Linked DNA regions of Homo sapiens: all the other regions are linked to region 4. The links are contacts of gene promoters, found by promoter capture Hi-C in human tissues and cell types (Jung and others, 2019). All regions are on one chromosome and are shown on one strand. Each heading gives the region's core, a stretch centred on a gene start or on the middle of the fragment in contact. The rest is flanking DNA. Distances are from core to core; before and after follow the strand shown. Region 1 overlaps SLC39A9 (solute carrier family 39 member 9). Region 2 overlaps DCAF5 (DDB1 and CUL4 associated factor 5). Region 3 overlaps SLC39A9 (solute carrier family 39 member 9). Region 4 holds the start of GALNT16 (polypeptide N-acetylgalactosaminyltransferase 16).

Evidence for each region. The method cuts DNA at HindIII sites, captures the fragments that hold promoters and counts their contacts. A contact is called where the count stands out against the background at its distance.
Region 1: a fragment that was not itself captured here is called in contact with the fragment with the promoter of GALNT16 in region 4 in 11 of the 25 tissues and cell types used here (aorta, bladder, dorsolateral prefrontal cortex and 8 more).
Region 2: a fragment that was not itself captured here is called in contact with the fragment with the promoter of GALNT16 in region 4 in 6 of the 25 tissues and cell types used here (H1 embryonic stem cells, heart right ventricle, liver and 3 more).
Region 3: a contact is called between a fragment that was not itself captured here and the fragment with the promoter of GALNT16 in region 4, in 4 of the 25 tissues and cell types used here (adrenal gland, lymphoblastoid cells, mesenchymal stem cells and 1 more).

The regions. Positions count from the first base shown.
Region 1 is chr14:69,402,886-69,405,585 of GRCh38, forward strand. The region is part of intron 1 of SLC39A9 (solute carrier family 39 member 9); the gene reads left to right. Among named protein-coding and RNA genes, the nearest start is that of SLC39A9, 5.5 kb to the left of the region's middle. The HindIII fragment of the contact is 6,795 bases long and covers 1-2,700 here.
Region 2 is chr14:69,117,467-69,120,166 of GRCh38, forward strand. It overlaps DCAF5 (DDB1 and CUL4 associated factor 5), which reads right to left. Exons shown (of 9, transcript NM_003861.3): 3 at 1,728-1,764; 4 at 673-812. Among named protein-coding and RNA genes, the nearest start is that of DCAF5, 34 kb to the right of the region's middle. The HindIII fragment of the contact is 7,416 bases long and covers 1-2,700 here.
Region 3 is chr14:69,423,506-69,426,205 of GRCh38, forward strand. It overlaps SLC39A9 (solute carrier family 39 member 9), which reads left to right. Exons shown (of 7, transcript NM_018375.5): 2 at 589-697. Among named protein-coding and RNA genes, the nearest start is that of SLC39A9, 26 kb to the left of the region's middle. The HindIII fragment of the contact is 3,966 bases long and covers 1-2,700 here.
Region 4 is chr14:69,258,782-69,261,481 of GRCh38, forward strand. GALNT16 (polypeptide N-acetylgalactosaminyltransferase 16) reads left to right here and starts at 1,377. Exons shown (of 15, transcript NM_001168368.2): 1 at 1,377-1,686. The coding sequence starts at 1,510. It overlaps GALNT16-AS1 (GALNT16 and EXD2 antisense RNA 1), which reads right to left and starts at 1,746. Exons shown (of 4, transcript NR_184249.1): 1 at 1,509-1,746. RefSeq lists a silencer at 2,423-2,482. The HindIII fragment of the contact is 13,760 bases long and covers 1-2,700 here.

The DNA of each region.
Region 1 (2,700 bases), core at 13-2,512, 140 kb after region 4:
AGCCTGGCCAACATGGCGAAACCCCATCTCTACTAAAAATACAAAAATTAGCTGGGCGTGGTGGCATGTGCCTGTAATCCCAGCTACTCAGGAGGCTGAGACAGGAGAATTGCTTGAACCCAGGAGGCGGAGGTTGCAGTGAGCCGAGTCCCACCATTGCACTCCAGCCTGGGGAACAAGAGCAAAACTTTGTCTCAGAAAAAAATAAAAATAAATAAATAAAAATAAATAAATAAAGGAGGCCAAAGCATGCTTTACACAAAGGAAGCCCTGTTTGGTAAGGGAGTGAGACCCGTTGGTTTATAGTTAACACTGTCTTATGTTTTTTCGATTGAATTGCTAATGAGTAGTTTTCTTTGGCTCTAAATAACAATGTTACATAAGTAGGTTGAGAGCCTATATTACCTAGTATAAACTCAGTGCTGCTGCAGTTGATAAATGGAGCTATGATACAAAAACAGATGGCTCAAGTGGGATTTCAGATTGATTATCTGAGGGTTGTTACTCACCTGAGTATGTCTCCTCTTTGTCACAGAGCTGGTAACAGAGAGCAAGCTGTTTTTGGCTCAGAGCTCTACAGCAATATTCCTCAAACTGCCTGGTAAAGGATCAGTTTTTGTTTTTAATTTTTATTTCAATCCATACCAATACACTTATAAAAATGAAATAGTAGGAAAATGAAGTGAAAAAAAGACATAGAAAATACAAGCCCAAATGTATTGTTAAATTCAACAGATAAAAAATTACTACTATAATTGTAATAATCATATTGCTCTAAAAATTTCTGAAGGCTTTATCTCAGTTGCCATACTTTTCTTATTGCAGACCAGTTTGAGTTATAATGCCACATTTTTCATGTATTAAAACAGCAAAGCAGGCCAGGCGTGGTGGCTCACGCCTGTAATCCCAGCACTTTGGGAGGCCGAGGCAGGCGAATCATCTGAGGTCGGGAGTTCGAGACCACCCTGACCAACACGGAGAAACCCTGTGTCTACTGAAAATACAAAATTATTTGGGCGTGGTGGCACGTGCCTGTAATCCCAGCTACTTGGGGGGCTGAGGCAGGAGAATCGCTTGAACCTGGGAGGCGGAGGTTGCAGTGAACCAACATTGCGCCATTGCACTCCAGCCTGGGCAGCAAGAGCAAAACTCCCTCTCAAAAAAACAAAAAACAAACAAACAAAAACAGCAAAACTGGATGTAGTGGCACACACTGGTTAGTCCCAGCTACTCCAAATGCTGATGTGGGAGGATCACTTGAGCCCAGGAGTTCAGGGTTGCAGTGAGCTATGAGTGTGCCTGTGAATAGCCACTGGCAACATAAGGAGACCTACTCCCTAAAATAACCAACAGCATAAATCCATAAGTTGGCAGATGAAAGTAGTGCTATTCTTAGGATGATTTTAAAGATGAATATGATTAATAATGCACTGATTTCAAAAGGGACTGTCTGAGACAGTATCATTCAAAGTCAATGTTACTACTTGAACAAGCTATTAAAATCCAAATCTCTTCTGTTAAATGACCTTCTAGGATTGTTGTGAGGTTGAAATAATATAAGCACAGGCTTAACACTATGTCTAGAACATAATAAAAACTTTCAAAAATATTGAGGCAGATTCTCAATACTGATTAGAAAAACTTGTAAAGATTTTCATTTTTATAACTTTGTTCTAATTTATAATTGTTAAACCTTTTATTTGGAAACAGACTTAATAATGGGAAGCTCCTCCCCCTCCTCCCCTTCGCAGTCATGGAAACTTCTCGGCAATTTGTTTGGAATCCAAAGGTCTTGTTGTGGGGTTTGGTTTGCATTACTATTTACCATTCTATTTGGAGAGGCCAGGGCTTTTCCTCTACCCTCCCTGCTTTATACTATTTTTCTTAGTATTTAACTCTCTTTTCTTCATTATACTTACTCTCATTTTAAGCTTTGTTTTGTTCTTTCGTGTTTTAAAGTTTTGTGTCTGTATTAGTCCATTCTTACACTGCTAATAAAGACATTTCTGAGACTGGGTAATTTATAAACGAAAGAGGTTTGATTGACTCACAATTCAGCATAGCTGGGGAGGCCTAAGGAAACTTACAATCATGGCAGAAGAGGAGGCAAACACATCCTTCTTCATGGGGCGGCAGGATGGAGAAGTGCTGAGCAAAAGGGGGAAAGCCCCTTATAAAACCATCAGATCTCGTGAGAACTCACTGTCACAAGAACAGCAAGAACTCACTATCACAAGAACAGCATGACCTCCCACCAGGTCCCTCGCATGGGAACTACAACTCAAGATGAGATTTGGGTGGGGACACAACCAAACCATATCAGTGTCTGATTATAATAACTGACTCATTCATAATAAGTATCTTTAGGGGTTTGAGTTACCCGCAAATCAAAGGTTTATTGTGTCTGAAGAACAGATTTATTCAGTATGCTTCTGCCTCTACAATAGGTTCTCTTTGAAGTAGATTTAACAATGTTACATTTTTAAGGACTTTTATATTGTCTGGTACATTGCTCTTACCCTCTTATGGTAATACAAGAGATTTTATACCTGTTTGGAATTTCATTTGTAAATTCTAAGATTTGAGCCGGGCATGGTGGCTTATACCTGTAATCCCAGTGCTTTAGGAGGCTGAAGCTGGAAGTTTGCTTGAGGCCAGGAGTTTGAGACCAACCTGGGCAACAAGTGAGACCCTGTCTCA
Region 2 (2,700 bases), core at 105-2,604, 140 kb before region 4:
CATTACAATCTGCACTAAAGGCCACGGTGGGTATGGCAGTGGCACTAAGGCTGGTACTAGAGGAAGGGGCCTTTTGAAGACAGGTAGAATTACAGAAATCTCTCTGTAGGAAATGAGCTGAGAAGATGCATTTCCTGAAGAACTTCAGAGAAAGTCAACAAAGCAACTTCTTCATTTCACACATCAGAGAGTCAAAGGGCACATTCAGAGGAGGCACTCACACGACAATCCCCTTTAAACAGAGTTTATTTGCCATCATTTTAAGATCCTATACACAGGTAATTTGAGATTCGGTGGTTCTTTCAACAAAATAACAAGCCTGAAACTAGGATGCAGGAAAGTGCATAACGCCCCCATTCTCTGTAAATAATCAAGAATAGTTACATGTCAGCACCACAACTTCTGCTCCTTGGGGCACTAAACACCAAAGTACAAGGGTTTGTGGAGAGTCACAGGAGGGTGGAGAAGGACTGGCAAAGGTGCCTCACTCCTGAGTATTTAGGTGGAGGATAAGGCCTCCAAAGACCTCTTATGCCCCCATGTGAGTGTTTCACATTTCCTTTCCCTTGACATCACTTGCACATAGATACTGAGGTAATAAATTGGATCTTCAATGAATCTGACATCAAACTGTTCAACACAGTCCAACAGTCATTTGCACAGTGAGCCTACCTCCATGGGGGGATTCCCGAATGTCCCAAATGAGAACCCGGCCATCATCTGAGGAACTGGCAAAAATGTTGTCATTCACTGGGCTCACAGACAAGCCATATACTGCATCTTCATGAGCAAACACGTCCAATGTCTCACTGCTGGGAGATAAGAGAGCAAGACAGAGGCACACACATACACACAAGCATAGTGCAGAGTCCCAGCACTTTGGTACCGAGGGTGCCATCTTTTCCATTTCTAGAAGAAAGTCAACCTAGCTAAACCCAAAAAATATTATATTTCCTGAAAGGTAGGTAGTCAACTTTCAGGTTAAAAAAAAGGTACTATTAAGGAGTCTTTTTAGAGATTTTATAATTTTTGTGCTAAATAAGCATATTTAAAAGTGACTCAATAGCTGAGTTTTGTATTTTCATTTATTACAGAATGCATCTGCTTGTGTACAGATTTGGGGGTCATACTTGATTTTCAAAAAGCAAGGGAAAGCTTTAAAGCAGCCAAGTCTGATGCCTACAGGATGGGAGAGGGGTCTCCTAGCAATCTGGCATGGTGATGAAGAGCATGGCTCTGAGGCCAGATAGCCTAAGTTCAGGTTTTAGTACCACCTGACCTTCTGTTATCTAACATGTCTGTGACTCCGTTTCCTGATCTAGAACGGAGATGACAATAGTATCTCCTCAGAAAATGAGTGTGAGGATTAAATGAATGAATATGTACAAAGCATTTACAATGGTGTCTGGCACATAGTAAGAACTCAATCAATATTAGCTATTACTGTTCTTAAATATTATGGTTCCTTCTCTTCTAAACTCTTGTTTTAAATTTTCACCTAAAAAGTACACTCTCATACCAACTTTCAAAACTTTCAAATCCCTTTTTCCTTTTTAAATCAAAACTTTATTTATTTCAAACTATTGTAGGAATTTTTTTAGAAAAGAACAGCTGGTTTCATGTTGTTTTTTTCAAAAAACAAAAACTATTTTAGTCTAAAGAGATATTTGCCTCTTCATATATGAAAAACAAAGTCAATCACCTTCACACACCACCAATCTATTTACCTTTCAACATCATGGAGGATAACTTGCTCATCATTGCCTGCAAAAGAAAAAAGCAGACATCTGATCATTCGTGCAAGGTGGTCCCTGTCCACATTACAATTTAGTATTTTTAAGTTTTCAGGGAAAAAATATGAACAAAGCCAATGCTAATACAAATTAGAAGTGTTAACTGGAAAAAAGATTTATAGAAATAATTTAAGAAGGATAGGACATTCTTACAGAGAATTTTTAAAAAATAATGGCATCCAAGTATAACACAGTAACAGTTCCCAATGTGTATTATCCAGTGGATGATGTAAAAAAAAAAAACAACTGTGGCTACAACCTGGGCAACATAGTTAGACTCCATCTCTATGAAAATAAAAATAAAAAAATTAGCCAACTGGTGGCACACCCTTGAAGTCCCAGCTACTAAGGAGGCTGAGGTGGAAGAATCGCTTGAGGTCAGGAGTTCAAGGCTGCAGTGAGCTACGATCGCACTCCAGCCTGGGCAACAGAGAGAGACTGTCTCAAAAAAAAAAAAAAAGTAGGGGGGAAACAACACAAAACAAAACTGTGGCCATCAAGAAAAACACTAAATGATCATTGACAAATCAATTCACTAGCTTTATTTTTTTTCTTTTTCAGCAGAACACTCACTAATCATGAGACCTGCAATAAAATCTTTAGCATTTCTATGACCTAACTTTTTAACCTACAGAATAGGGATAATAACATCATAGAGTAACTGTAAGCATAAGAGTACATCTGTAAAAGCATTCAGAATAGGGCTGATCACTTAATAAGCCCCCAATAAATGTTTGTTAATATTTCTATCCTCATGGTCTTTTAAAAATGTTTCTTTCTTTCTTTCTTTTGAGACAGGATCTTGCTCTGTTTGTCTTTTAAAAATTTTTCTTCTTTCTTTCGAGACAGGATCCTGCTCTGTTGTCCAGGCTGGAGTGCAGTGGTGCAATCATGGTTCACTACAGTC
Region 3 (2,700 bases), core at 47-2,546, 160 kb after region 4:
GTAGCAATTCACATTCCTTCCAGTATTAAAGTGTACTCATTCTTCCTATCATGGATAGTAGACATTTTCCCAAATCATTGTTAACCTGGTCATTTAAAAAATTTCATCTCAGTCAGGCACAGTGGCTCACGCTTGTAATCTCAGCACTCTGGGAGACCGAAGCGGGCGGATCACCTGAGGTCAGGAGTTGGAGACCAGCCTGGGCAACATGGTGAAACCCCGTCTCTACTGAAAATACAAAAATTAGCCAGATGTGGTGGTGCACGCCTGTAATCCCAGCTACCCGGGAGGCTGAGGCAGGATAATCGCTGGAACTTGGGAGGCGAAGGCTGCAGTGAGCCGAGACCACGCCACTGCCTCAAGCCTGAGCGACAGAGCAAGATTCTGTCTCAAAAAAAAAAAAAAAAAAATTCATCTCTTTGTTTTACTTGGCATTACTCATGCAATTGATCATTTTTCATCTTCGCTGTCTATTGTAGATGTTGGTCTCACAAATGAGCAGCTCACAGTCTTGATTACAGATACTTGAGAAACTTTTTCCCATTAATTAATCAAAGTTTGCAATTATTTCTTTTGCTTTCTCCCCAGGAACGACTGAAGCTGGTGACTGTTTTGGGTGCTGGCCTTCTCTGTGGAACTGCTCTGGCAGTCATCGTGCCTGAAGGAGTACATGCCCTTTATGAAGATATTCTTGAGGGTGAGAAAGGGAAGAGCATTATTTGAGATATGTTATTGACTTGGAGGGTTAGCAGGATGAAGCTTAGTGGTATGTTTTCTGAGCACAGTTCATGTTTACCATAGAGTTCTACCCTGAGAAGATTTGTTGAGAGATATCTTGATATCTTTGATATTGACACATCCTTAGCAGTTTGTCAACTGAATGTCCCAATTCATGAATACCACTTAATGTTTATTTGCCACAGTGCATGAATGAGTCATTTTAAGTTATGACAGTTCTTTTTTAATGCTTACTCAAACACTTCCCAAATCCCACATGATAGTGGCTGCATTTTTTGTTTAATTTAAAAATATATAGATATAAATATTTAAATTTAAGGACCCTTTACAGTAAACTTTATAGATAATTGATGAGGACCCATGCAGTAAAGGATAACTGAAAAAATTAAAGAGGCCTTTCCTGACCCTAATAGCAACAAGCAGAGGGAACAGTATAGCTGTGTGAGAGTAAATGCTTGGTGGTCAGCTTGGCTTACTCACCAGCAAAGTAATTTGGTCCTTCACACAGCTGAAAAGCATACTTGATTCACATTTGTGACTTAGCAAAATCCGATTACTACATGTCATGAAACTTCACAGTTACCTGTGAAGGATTGACACCACAGCTGTTAAATCCATGAGCTGAATCCTCAAGTACCAAGTCTACCAGATGTTAAGAATAGTATAAAGAGGTAGGCACTTCCAAATTTCTTACTAGATACAATATAATAAATACTTTTTCAGATCTTGGTAGAGGAAAAGAACTGTGTCCTTTATCCAGAATGGTGATGCTCTTAGGCCTGGGGTTTGATAGACAAAGAGTTTTGGCAGATATAAATGAGGATTGCAGAAGTGTTGCAAGATAGGACAGGGGCTGAGGAGTGGTCAGCTGCATTGGGGAACAGTAATAAATCAGGAGCCTTAAAGCAGTGGTCTCTACTTTTTTTATGGTCACACATCCTACAGAGGGAGGGAGGAATGATTTACATGCACTATTGCACTGATTTAATGTGTACATTATAAAATACACTCCTAAAACAGGAATATTTTTGAGACCTGAGATTTAAATATACATAGAACAGTATTTTCTTTCATATTCTAGTGGGTCATCTTGAATTTTTCTGGGATGTGATTCCACTATAGAAATCACTATCCTAACATTTGTCCTTTTATGGGTGGCAGTTGTTTTCTAAAGTTGTCTGATAATGAAAATTCCTTGAGGAAGAGGCACATTTTAAAAGTATGATTTCCTGACCTCCAGGAAGGATCCCGGGAATATCTATTTTTAACAAGCTGTCTGCAATTCTTATGAAACAAGTTTCAGAAACACTGGAGTAGAGGAAAGAAGTGCTTCAAGTATAGTTTCTTTGTGTTATTTTTAATATCAATTTGAGATATAATTTACATACCCTGTTTCAGGTATAGTTGGGGGTTTTGGGTTTTTTTTTTTATTTGTTTGTTTTGAGACATGGTCTCACTCTGTCGCCCAGGCTATAGTCCAGTTTTGCCATCACAGCTGAAATCTCTTGGGTTTAAGCAATCCTCCCACCTCAGCCTCCTGAGTAGCTGGGACTATAGTATAGATGCACACTGCTATGCCTGACTAATGTTTAATTTTTTTTTGTAGAGATAGAGTCTCCTTCTGTTGCCTAGGCTGGTTGCCAATTCCGGGACTCAAGCGATCCTCCCAAGTTGGCCTCCCAAAGTGCTGGGATTACAGGTGTGAGACACCTCACCCAGCCCAGGTGTAGTTTAAGACTAAAATTATCTACCGTGTGTTAGGTTGTGTGTAGAGAAAAACTCTCTCTAACCGTGTTTTTCCTGTGCTCTCACACCACAACAATCATAAACACAGAAGAAAAACTTCTGTAACCAGATGCGTGGCAATATCTCCCCACTACCAAGCAGTGGACACCAGCCAGGTGTCCTCCAATTTAATTCTGACGCTGTCTACCTGGAGGCAGTATCAGATCCCACAGATCT
Region 4 (2,700 bases), core at 127-2,626:
CAGCAGGAAGCAGACTCCTCAACAACTCTGCCCCGGCATTCAAGGACCTCCTGAGTTCAGACTCACCCAGCCTGGCCAACCTCAACTCCTATCAAATCCTAGGCCCCCTGCAACGCCTGGCAGCTCTCTCTCTTGAACACATCAAGCTCTTCCATCCTCTGGATTTTTGCAAGGCCTATTTCTGCAGTCTCTCCCCTGTCCTCACCTCCCCCTTCCTTACCTCTTAAGTGATTCATCCACCTTTCTGAGAGCTTTCCCAAAGGCCACCTTACAATAAATTATTTCTTCCTCTGTTGGATCCCTACTTTGTTGTTACACATCTATTCATTGAGCGCTCTGTGCCCGACACTGTGCTGGTTTCCTAAAACTCATCCAAGCCTCTTGCTTTCTGCCTGGAGTGAAGAGTAGTTCACGTTCTGATTCTCAGTGCCTCTAGGGCTGGAGCGGAATCTTAATGTCTGTGTCCTCGTCTCTCACCACCGCGTTTTGCACTTTGTCGAAAGGTGTCAGATGGTGAGATGGCTTCTAGACTGGGCTCTGCCCACTAATTAGCTGTGTGGCCTTGGGAGAATCATCCGGCCTCTCTTGCTGCCCTTCTTTCCGATGAAATAATGCTGACGATGATATTTCAGGGTTGTCCAGGGGTCAATGAGGCGGGATAGAGGGAAGCATCGTGAAATCTGGGAGCCCCAGGCCAGCGAAAAATGTGGAAGGGCCGTACCCGCACTCTCCTAGCACTGGGTGTGAGGCAGCGTCGTTTCCCCTTCGCGCTCTTCGAATGTCAAGTGCACCAGCTTCCAATCCCTCCTCTGGGCGGGCCCGGTCTGGCTAATCTCAGCTGCAGATTCCAGTACAAACTCAGGACTCTCCCCCGCCCAGCCGCCCCTACACAAGGACTCGCCGAACACACCTTGAATCCCGCGCCAGAGCGCAGCCCGGAACTGCAGCTCGCGGCGCGGGCCCAGGTCGGGGGTCGCGCGTCTCCAGTCGGTGACTCAAGGCCGCTCGGTCCGGGGGTGGGTGTGGGTCGGCAGGACCGACCAGGGCCGCGCGGGGGCAGCTGCCGGGCGTTCGGTCACCTAGCGGTGGGAGCCGAGGCTGGCTTTGGCCAGTCGCCATTCCGCCGCGGGCGTCTGTCTCGCCGGGTTCCCGGGCGCGGGAGGAAGGCCCGCGCCGCTTCCCACTCGGCGCGCTTCTCTCCCAGTGCGCAGTGGCCTGGTGGGTCAGCCGGCGGCGGCTGGAGCGCGGGGCCGGCCCTGCGCACGAATGAATGGGCGCCCGGGGGACGCGCGCGCTCGGGGCTGAAGGGCATTAGGACCGTGAGGATCGCTCCGCGATCCTGTCTCTCCCTATCACCCCCCCGCCCCCCCACCTCTCTCCTTTTTCTGCTCTGCAGGACTGAGCAGCTAGGCGCGAGCGAAAACAAACAGCTGGGGCTGCGAGCGCCCCCGCCCCGGCCCCGAGAGCACGCCGGCCCAGTCCCCCACCTGGGGCGCCCGTCTGCCCACCATGAGGAAGATCCGCGCCAATGCCATCGCCATCCTGACCGTAGCCTGGATCCTGGGCACTTTCTACTACTTATGGCAGGACAACCGAGCCCACGCAGCATCCTCCGGCGGCCGGGGCGCGCAGAGGGCAGGCAGGAGGTCGGAGCAGCTCCGCGAGGACCGCACCATCCCGCTCATTGTGAGTACGCCCCGAGCGTCGGCCGGCCGGCTAGGGAGCCGCGGCGCGCGTCCAGACCCTGCGCGGCGGCCGAGGGCGCGGGGCCCGGCCAGGGCTGAGTGCCCGCTGCGCCGGGCCGGCTTTGTATATGTTGGAGCATTCCTGCCCGTTGTTATGGCAACCTCTGCCGGGCGGCGGGGCTGGGGCGCACCGACTAAGGGAGGGTGACAGAGGGTGGGGGCTGGGAGAAAGTGCTGCAAGTTTGGTGGGCCCGGCGTGCGCGCGCGGCTGGGAACGTGGCGGCTCTCCCGGCTCTGCGCTGCCGGGGCCGGGAGTCTGGGGGCTGCGGGAGCCTCGTGTGCCCCGGAAGGCTGCCGGGCCCAGCGCGCGGCGAGCGGGCGGTGGGAACCACTCGCAGCCGAGCGCGTAGGTGGCAGTGCGCAGCCCCTCTCCAGCCTTCTGGGGGCAGAGGACATCGGGTGGGGGCGTGGGTAGGGGAAGGCTCTCTAGGCGCTGCGCCTGGCTTCGAACCCCCTTCTGAGCCGGGTCAACTTGAACCCGCTTCTTCGGCGCGGACACCCAGCTTCCCCGGAGTTCTCTGGGTTGAGGAGAGGTCTCGCACTGTACGCGTCTCTCACTCCCAACCTTAGGGTCCGCCACCACGGGTAGGTGGGCAGTGTCAGCGCCCGAACTTGGCGATACCCTTGCATGAAGTCAGCCTCGCGACATCTAAGCGGGCAGGGAAACAAAGGCAGTGTGGCACAGCGGGGGCGGCGGCGGGGCTGCGGGGGCCCTTGGCGCTCTGGGGACCCGGGCGGGGGCGTGCGGAGCCGCAGCCGCCCTGCAGGGGGCGATCCTGTCGCCGTCTCCGTCCGAGCCCCAGGTGACAGAGCTGTGCGTGGCCAGGCAGGGGCACCTGTTGAGGCGGGAGGCTTTGGCACCCGCCGAGAGTGCGCTCGAGCGGGCGCATTCTTCCAGACGGGGGCGGTTGGTGGACGAGAGCCTCGGACGACCCTCGGGAACTACCAGGGCGGG